Linked DNA regions of Homo sapiens: region 1 is linked to region 2. The links are contacts of gene promoters, found by promoter capture Hi-C in blood cells and fetal thymus (Javierre and others, 2016). All regions are on one chromosome and are shown on one strand. Each heading gives the region's core, a stretch centred on a gene start or on the middle of the fragment in contact. The rest is flanking DNA. Distances are from core to core; before and after follow the strand shown. Region 1 has its middle 50 kb from the start of ENPP4. Region 2 holds the start of TDRD6 (tudor domain containing 6).

Region 1 (4,581 bases), core at 1,048-3,547, 610 kb before region 2:
ATGACATTCTCACCAACATGTCTAGAACAGGTGAAAACATACACAAATGAATACAAGTATCAATGCAGCCCAGTGGTCCACACTAAAACAGCCCAGGAGAAGAACATCCAGAACTGAAAAGCCGTAAGCCCTACTAGGAAGACAGTGAGCCACAGAGCTCCCTCCAGTGTGGGGGACCAACATCCCTTCCACAGAGCAGGGAAGAGGAAAAGGCCTGAGAGGTCACACTCACACCCTACAGTTTCACTCAAGCAGAGAAGGCCCTGTTTTACTCGATTTTATATATTCTACTTCCATTCAACATTGGGTAAGGAACTTCAGTGAAGATAGGGCCGAGTGTGGAGCTAGGAAGCAGGGATTATAACTGCCGCTCTTTTTATTACTGAATATCCTTAAAAAGGAGTTTATGCATAGAAGCTGAGGTCAGTGGGACACTCTATGGCCTTTCAGTTCACACAATTATGCTAAAAAGAATGTAAACTTAAAGAGTTAAATCTAATATTTGCTTTAGGAAATTTTAAGTAATTTAGGAATTACATGTTATAGTCAATCAATTTTCCCTGTTGCTGGTACTGCCAGGAAGTACCAACACTTCTTTTTCCTACTACTTCTGTTTTTGCTCAATACCAGCCATAGGCTAATTTCTAGTGAGATAAACACTTAGCCAAATTTAGAAATAATGTCAGATGGGTCCATGATGATGATCATGGTGATGACCCACTTTGCCTGTCACAGGTTGCATGGATGCTTCTGCCATGAGAAAAAAAAAATACATCTAGTCCTCACTTTAAAAAAGTCTGTGGCCAGGAGCTGTGGCTCACGTCTGTAATCCCAGCACTCTGGGAGGTTGAGGCGGGTGGATCACTTGAGGTTAGGAGTTTGAGACCAGCCTGGCCAACATGGCAAAACCCCATCTCTACTAAAAATTCAAAAATTAGCCAGACCAGGTGGCACATGCCTGTAATCCCAGCTACTCGGGAGGCTGAAGCAGGAGAATCATTTGAATCTGGGAGGTGAAAGTTGCAGTGAGCTGAGATCATGCCATTGCACTCCAGCCTGGGTGACACAGTGAGACTCTGTCTCAAAAAAGAAAAAAAAAAAAGTTTGTTTGCACAGTGTGACAGTGATGATGTGGATATGGAGGTCAGAAAACTGCGTGAATGCACCTGTTCTAACATCACCTCCTCCGTGGAGCTGCTCCAAACTCAGTACACATCTCAGCACTCCTTCTCTGAACACCCACACACTCCACCCACTCCTCTGTTTCATCTCTTACTATATTGTATTAGAATACATTGAGTGCAAGTCTGTCTCTGTCACCATATTATTCATTACTTAAGAGCAAGGGCCTTGTCTTGCACAGCCCTTTCCCCCCAAATGCTCAGCAGAGTACAAGGCAATGTGTGTCTGGTATGTATGTGTGAACCAAGCACTATACTAGATTATTTTTAAAAGGACCTTGTAGTAGAATAAGTGATCCATGATTTACACACAAAACAATTAGAGAAAAGAACAAATTACAAGACAACAAAGGGCAAAATTAGTAAAGTGTGTTTCATCAGAAATGTTACTGGGAACTGGGGAAGAGAGAAATGAGTATGAACTATGGTTTCTGTAGGTTTATAATCATTTTTATTGGCAGGAAAGAGCAGCATTTACAAATATATTTATATAATAAATGTGAAAACATTTCTAAAAATCACATAAATATGAATATTGTGGGGGAGATGTTGGGGAAAAAGGGCCTGCCATCTTGATTAATAAAGATGATTTGTTTAGGTCTGAAACACTTTACATTTTGATAATATTTATAACCATAACTTTATTACTTTATCATCTAATACAAAGATCACCAAGGTTCTGTTTAGATATCGTAAGCATTAAACATTAACACTGGTAGTGTCTTACTACTACTGAAATCATTTGACTTCATCAAATTTTTAGTTATATTGGTGCCAAAGGGGCAAGCTAGTGACAGAGATAGCCTTTATTGACCACCTATCTGACAAATCTGTGACCTTAGAAGCACAAGAAGGTCTTTCTTTCACAAGCTTTGGTTTCACTTTTAAACATGTTGACAAAGGAAATTTAACCAGACAGAAAAATGTACTTAATGTCAGCCACAATGGCAAGGATTTGGGCAGCAGTTATGGCTCACTTATGTGAACCGTTTTGAAAAATACTTTGCCCATGGTATGTAAAAGTCAGTGATTAAATACGTGCTTTAAATGCACCTTCCAATTCCTCTAATTTTGTGAAGAGCTGAGTACACTCTAATGACTGATTTAGTCCCTCCGACTCCTGAATATGTATTGAGATCCAAGGACCATGGCATTATGAATCTTTCCCTGGTCATTCAGAGCAAAATAAAACACCAGCCATAATATCTGCATGAACAGGGTATGCCTGTCAGAGGCAGACCTTACCTTCACAAAGAGGTAAATCTCAGGGTTCATGTGAGCTCCCTCCTTTTCTTCCAAACCTTCAGCATCAGAATAGCAGGAATACTTGGTGGTAGAGAAGGCCTTACTGTGCTGAATGGTGAAGCTTGAAGGAGAAGGCAGATCTTCCTTCATCACACTCCCATTCTCCTGGAGTTCTGCTGCGCAGAGTTGCTGGTCCTGGGTTGATGAATATAACCCTTCCATTGAGATGCCCCTGTCCTCCTGGGGCTCACCTGGATGAGCCTCCTGGAGTTCAGAGTATATCTCATCAGGCAGGAGGTAGCCTCTGTCTTCTGACTGGACAGAGGCCAAGCTGGTCTCTTCACCCTTAATGGTATAGACTGACACAAAATCATACTCATGGGTATTCAGCTGAGTGGCATATAAATCATTTTCTGGCCTTAAGTACTCATGGACATCATCATAATGGGGACTTTCATTTTCTTCTGGCTGGTCTGGAACCTCATACGTCCTCTCATTTTGGATTGTGTCATAGATGGTGCTGTAGTCTTCGTCATTCATGCTTATTGATCCGAGAGATCTGTTTACAGGGAGACCTGAGTAGATCTGAAATGAATGAAGGGACAGAGGATGCTGCACCACCTTGCAGAGGAATCAACGAGCTCTTAAAAGGCAGCAACTAGCAACTGCTATCAATGACAGGTCTCTAACAATTATTTACTGGAGAGTTTTATAAGCAAACCACAAGTCCATTGGACAGAAGATAAAGCTTACACACTCAGTTAACTCCTTCACTCCTAAAGATATTTTTATTAGACCCTGGGGATTTCCTCATTGGCAGTAACTCCAAGATTCTTTGGGTAAGCCAGAGATTGAATTGAATTATCTTCCTGGTATACACTGAAATTTTGAATATGTAGCCATTTTTCATCAATAGAGCTCCCTCCTCCAACTGCCTCCAAATGTTGACAACATTCAAGAACCCCTGCAATTCAGTGGAGAGCTACAATTCTTCACAATGGCCTCTCATCTATTTACTGCTGAATTTATCACATAGAACAATTATTTGCCTATTGATACCCTGTGATAAATGAATTACATGCCCTGGTTAGGTAATGAATTCCATTTACATTTCTTATCTGGAAACACCACTAGGTGATTAAACAGCAGAAGGAAAAGAAGATAAATGCTCTGGCCTATAGACACATCAGTATAGACCACCCAAATTAGGGACTCAAAGACTTATGGCTTTAATTTTTATTTTTCCCCCTTAAATCTGCATGATCATCACCATCAACAAACATTCACTAAAATCCTATCATATACAGAATGCTGAATTGAGCACAACAAAAGCGTTAGAAGACACATTCTCTGTCTTCAAAGGGGCTTTTAAATGTAGCTGGAGGGCCCAGAAGAGAAAAATAAAACCGAGGAAAAACTATTTAAAGTTTTCTTAGTGCAATAAGCCCAGGTCTGGATAAGCAATAAAAAATTGTATGCACAAGGCTGTTCAGTCAATGCCATCCACAGATGCTGTGAATATGTGTGCCCCCCAAATTCTTTTTAATCTGGTACTCTATCCTGCTAATTCCTGCTTCCCTTTGCCACACCACATACATCTTTCTCCTTGAAGTGACAACCCAGCTAGGTTGTAAAGGGACTTTAATGTCTAGAAATCATGTGAAAACTGTGAAGCAATGCAACTCCTGTTGACAAGCTTCAGAACATTTGATGGGCATCTTGGCAAAACTTCGTTGTACTCTTAGACTTCAATATTGTATCCAGGAATCTTCTACTGGGAATTAGAGCAGCATTTCTAGAATTCTAGCTTAAAGAATGGGTAAGGAAAAAGAGGTCAGAGACTTCAAAGGCTATTGACACTGGACATTTATCTTATTGAAAAGTGACATTCAATGGGTCCAAATACCTTACACATTTTGATAGGTTCTATAATCAGGTGTTTTTAATTGAATGGATTCCAGTTCAAATCTTCCTCCTAGTTTTACAGCTGGTGAAAACCTAAGAGATCATTCAAACATTTTATTTTACATTTGAAAAAAATTTAAACCTAGAAAGTGGAAGTGAATGGTCCAAGTTTACACAAAAACTTAATGGCGGAGCTGACTTTAGCTGTGGTTTTTGAACCTCCAGCTCAGTAATATTTCTGCTACTAAAT
Region 2 (4,490 bases), core at 657-3,156:
ACTAATGCTACCTGCTCCAGATACAGAAAAGGTAGGACATTGGAAAATCTGGGTGGATGGGGGTAAAGGATTCAGATCAGCCCATAACGGCCACGTGATATACCCTGACGTCCTAGGATTAAGGCCATGAGCCATGGAAGGAGGTTGGAGGACAAATGAAATACAGAAAGTCATAATATCTACAACCCTGTGGTCTACAAAGGAGTTTGGTTATACTACATGAACCTGAAATAGATGATGGATTAAAGTCTCCATTATTCCATGTAATGATAAAACAATTTCAAGTGATCATAAGACCATTTTATAATGAATTCCTTCTTTCCACTGTAAAGGCCATAGTGTTAGATTGCTTACTCTTGTTAAGATTTACTGGATGCTAACAGTCCAGCACTGGCTAGGCATCGAGAACATAAAAATAAATGAGAAGTGTTCCTGCTTTTAAGATGTTCCTACTGTGGCAAACAGAGAGCTACAAAATATAATAATATAGAAGTATGTAAAAAAAAAAAAAAAAAGGAATAACCAATTCTGCCAGGTTGAATAGTAGGGTCACGAGGAAACGACGTTTGAGCTAGGTCTTGCTAGATGTTTTTAAATAAAATGTTTTTCTTCCATAATGAATATGAAACAATTAGAAAAAAAATGGGAAAATTGAGTTTTCAAGGATGAGTTCTTCAGGAAAAGAAAAGCTTTGGCTTTTAGAGAAATTGGATTCATTCATTCATTCATTCATATTCATTTAGCAAATATTCATTGCCTTCACTCCAAGCTAGATTCCGAGAATCCAACAAACGGTACTTGCCAAAGGGAACCTGTCGGCTGGTGGGATGATAGAGATCAGACAGTTGCCACACAATGTGAAAAGTGCCGTGAAAAAGTAAGCATAGGGTGATGTGGAAGCACATGGTTGCCTCTAATCTGGACAGACTGAAGACACTGAGATTTACAGTTAGGCCAGGGTCATTTGAAGCACTGCCTTGTTGTATTTGTATGTAATGACATTTCGAAACGTGGAATGAAAGGAAAAGTACAGGCAGACTATAAGAAGCTTCCACGGATGTGTCTAACTTTGCAAATGAACAAAAATCTAATGTAGACATATCCTGGAAACTTCTAGTTTGCCTGCACTTTTCCATTCCAAATGGAGGTTTGGACATTTAACAGAGGCCTCAAAGGGTTATCCTGTTAAGATTTTAGTATATACAGCAGGGGCTTGAAGGAATGTTGATTCCATTCCTCTTGGCCTCCTTTTATGAATCCAGTTCTGTGCTAGCTCTGTGAGTAAATGAAAATGCCTTCAAAATTGGGATGCCAGAGTTAGACAGCAAAGGAGCAAAGGAACCCGTATCAGCTAAGTGTGGGAAGGGAAATATGTACCAGTTGCTATATACTTTCACACGTTATTTTAACCTCATAACAACTCTTATCAATTCAGATGATGGAACAGGGTTAAAGAATAGAGGCTGAGCACCTGGCTGTCCACGGACACACTGAGCCAGCAGGAGCACCCGTGCCCCGCAGCAGCACCCAGGGCCCTCCTAGAGTTCCGGCCTTAACGCCTAGGAACGTGCCATTGGCTCCTGCGTTTCTCGTTCCCGTCGGGAACGCCACTGGCTAGTACCTTGCCTGGCCCCCAGTGCTCAATCCCTGGTAGTTGGGAGGACGAAAAGGAAATCCCTCTCTGGTCGGTCCTCACCGCAGCCCTGTGTCAGGCCGTCACACGGCGGCCTCCAGAGTCGAAGGCGCTCTGAGGAGATGCAGGTTGTGTCCAAAACCTCCCACCTCGGGGTCTCCTGAACGTCCCAACAAGCTCCTTGGGCCCTTAGGCGTTAGGCCAACCCCAGGCCTCGGCTGGCCCCGCCCACTCTCCGCGGCCGGAAGTGGCGGCGCCGAGTGAGGTAAATGCGTGCCCGGAAGCGCGACCTCGGGCGGTTGGAGGGGCTACCGGGTCTTACCAGTCCGTGGCGGGAGTCCCGGAGGACCCTCGACGGGGGAGTTGCCGAGAAAAGGCCTCGCCGGCATTCTTCCCCTCCACTGGGTCCTTTGAACCTAGTTTGGCTGGGACTCGCCTTCAGGCGGCGCGGAGGATTTCGAGGCCCTGAGGCGCGGCCCTTAATTTCCGGAAGTGGGGGCCGCGCCGCGCCGTCAAGATGTGCTCGACGCCCGGAATGCCGGCGCCGGGGGCCTCGCTGGCCCTGCGGGTGTCCTTCGTGGACGTGCATCCCGATGTGATCCCGGTGCAGCTGTGGGGGCTGGTGGGCGAGCGGCGGGGCGAGTACCTGCGGCTGAGCCGGGAAATCCAGGAAGCGGCGGCCACGCGCGGCCAGTGGGCGCTGGGCAGCGCCTCGGCCTCGCCCGGCGAGCTGTGCCTGGTGCAGGTCGGGCTTTTGTGGCACCGCTGCCGCGTGGTCAGCCGGCAGGCACAGGAGAGCCGTGTCTTCCTGCTGGACGAGGGCCGCACCATCACGGCCGGAGCAGGCTCGCTGGCGCCTGGGCGCAGAGAGTTCTTCAATTTGCCCTCGGAAGTGCTGGGCTGCGTGCTAGCGGGCCTGGTGCCGGCAGGCTGCGGCGCGGGCTCAGGCGAGCCGCCGCAGCACTGGCCCGCCGACGCCGTGGACTTCCTTAGCAACCTTCAGGGCAAGGAGGTGCACGGGTGCGTCCTGGACGTGCTGCTGCTCCATCGCCTGGTCCTCCTGGAGGTGCCTGATGTGTTCCAACAGATGCGGGAGCTGGGCCTGGCTCGGCGGGTGCCCGACAGCCTCTTCCGTTCGCTGCTGGAGCGCTATCTCACAGCGGCCACTGCTAGCGTGGGCTCCGGGGTCCCGGTTCTCTCGCGAGTCCCGCTCAAGCAAAAGCAGCCTGGTCTGGATTACTTCTATCCCCAGCTGCAGCTGGGCGTGACGGAGGCCGTGGTCATAACCCAAGTGTGCCATCCCCACCGCATTCACTGCCAGCTCCGCAGCGTCTCGCAGGAGATCCACCGCCTCTCCGAGAGCATGGCCCAGGTATACCGGGGTTCCACGGGGACAGGGGATGAGAACTCTACCAGTGCCACCTGGGAGGAGAGGGAGGAGAGCCCAGATAAGCCGGGCTCTCCGTGTGCATCCTGTGGCCTGGATGGACATTGGTACAGAGCACTGTTGCTTGAGACTTTTCGGCCCCAGCGCTGTGCCCAGGTGCTTCATGTGGACTATGGAAGGAAGGAGTTAGTGAGTTGCAGCAGCCTTCGGTACTTGCTGCCTGAATATTTTCGAATGCCGGTGGTGACCTACCCTTGTGCTTTGTATGGACTCTGGGACGGTGGGAGAGGCTGGTCTCGGTCACAGGTCGGTGACCTGAAGACACTGATACTAGGCAAGGCAGTGAATGCAAAGATTGAATTTTATTGCTCCTTTGAGCATGTGTATTATGTCAGCCTGTATGGAGAAGATGGGATTAATCTGAACCGTGTGTTTGGAGTACAGTCGTGTTGCTTGGCTGACCGAGTCCTTCAGAGCCAGGCAACAGAGGAGGAGGAACCAGAAACATCTCAGTCTCAGTCTCCTGCTGAAGAAGTAGATGAAGAGATTTCACTCCCAGCCTTAAGATCTATCAGGTTAAAGATGAATGCCTTCTACGATGCGCAGGTAGAGTTTGTTAAAAATCCTTCTGAGTTTTGGATTAGGTTGAGGAAACACAATGTCACCTTCAGTAAGCTGATGAGGAGAATGTGTGGTTTCTATTCCTCTGCCAGTAAGCTGGATGGTGTAGTTTTGAAACCTGAACCTGATGACCTTTGCTGTGTCAAGTGGAAAGAAAATGGTTATTATAGGGCCATAGTCACCAAATTGGATGACAAGAGTGTGGATGTATTCTTAGTTGACCGAGGCAATTCGGAAAATGTGGACTGGTATGACGTAAGGATGCTGCTTCCTCAGTTTAGGCAGCTACCAATATTGGCTGTGAAGTGCACCCTGGCTGATATTTGGCCTTTGGGAAAAACTTGGAGCCAGGAGGCAGTTTCCTTTTTTAAAAAGACTGTGCTCCACAAAGAATTAGTCATCCATATTCTTGATAAACAGGATCATCAATATGTTATTGAGATTCTTGACGAATCAAGAACAGGGGAAGAAAACATTAGTAAGGTAATTGCCCAAGCTGGATATGCCAAGTATCAGGAATTTGAAACAAAGGAAAATATCCTGGTAAATGCCCACTCCCCAGGGCATGTTTCAAACCACTTTACTACGGAGAGTAACAAAATACCTTTTGCCAAGACTGGAGAAGGAGAGCAGAAAGCCAAGAGAGAGAATAAAACCACATCTGTTTCAAAAGCTTTGAGTGACACAACAGTTGTAACAAATGGTTCAACTGAACTAGTTGTGCAGGAAAAAGTGAAAAGAGCATCTGTTTATTTTCCTCTTATGCAGAATTGCTTGGAAATTAAGCCAGGCTCCTCTAGTAAAGGAGAGCTGGAAGTTGGAAGTACAGTAGAAGTCAGAGTGTCTTAT

The links. Contacts are between HindIII fragments. The CHiCAGO score rates a contact against its expected background, and 5 or more counts as called.
Region 1: a contact is called between a fragment that was not itself captured here and the fragment with the promoter of TDRD6 in region 2, in 1 of 17 cell types (M0 macrophages). The highest score is 5.4, in M0 macrophages.

The regions. Positions count from the first base shown.
Region 1 is chr6:46,077,277-46,081,857 of GRCh38, forward strand. It overlaps a transcript of CLIC5 not described here. Among named protein-coding and RNA genes, the nearest start is that of ENPP4, 50 kb to the right of the region's middle. The HindIII fragment of the contact is 496 bases long and covers 2,050-2,545 here.
Region 2 is chr6:46,685,979-46,690,468 of GRCh38, forward strand. It overlaps TDRD6 (tudor domain containing 6), which reads left to right and starts at 1,907. Exons shown (of 4, transcript NM_001010870.3): 1 at 1,907-4,490. The coding sequence starts at 2,151. It overlaps TDRD6-AS1 (TDRD6 and SLC25A27 antisense RNA 1), which reads right to left and starts at 2,187. Exons shown (of 2, transcript NR_134643.1): 1 at 1,956-2,187. The HindIII fragment of the contact is 3,266 bases long and covers 1,047-4,312 here.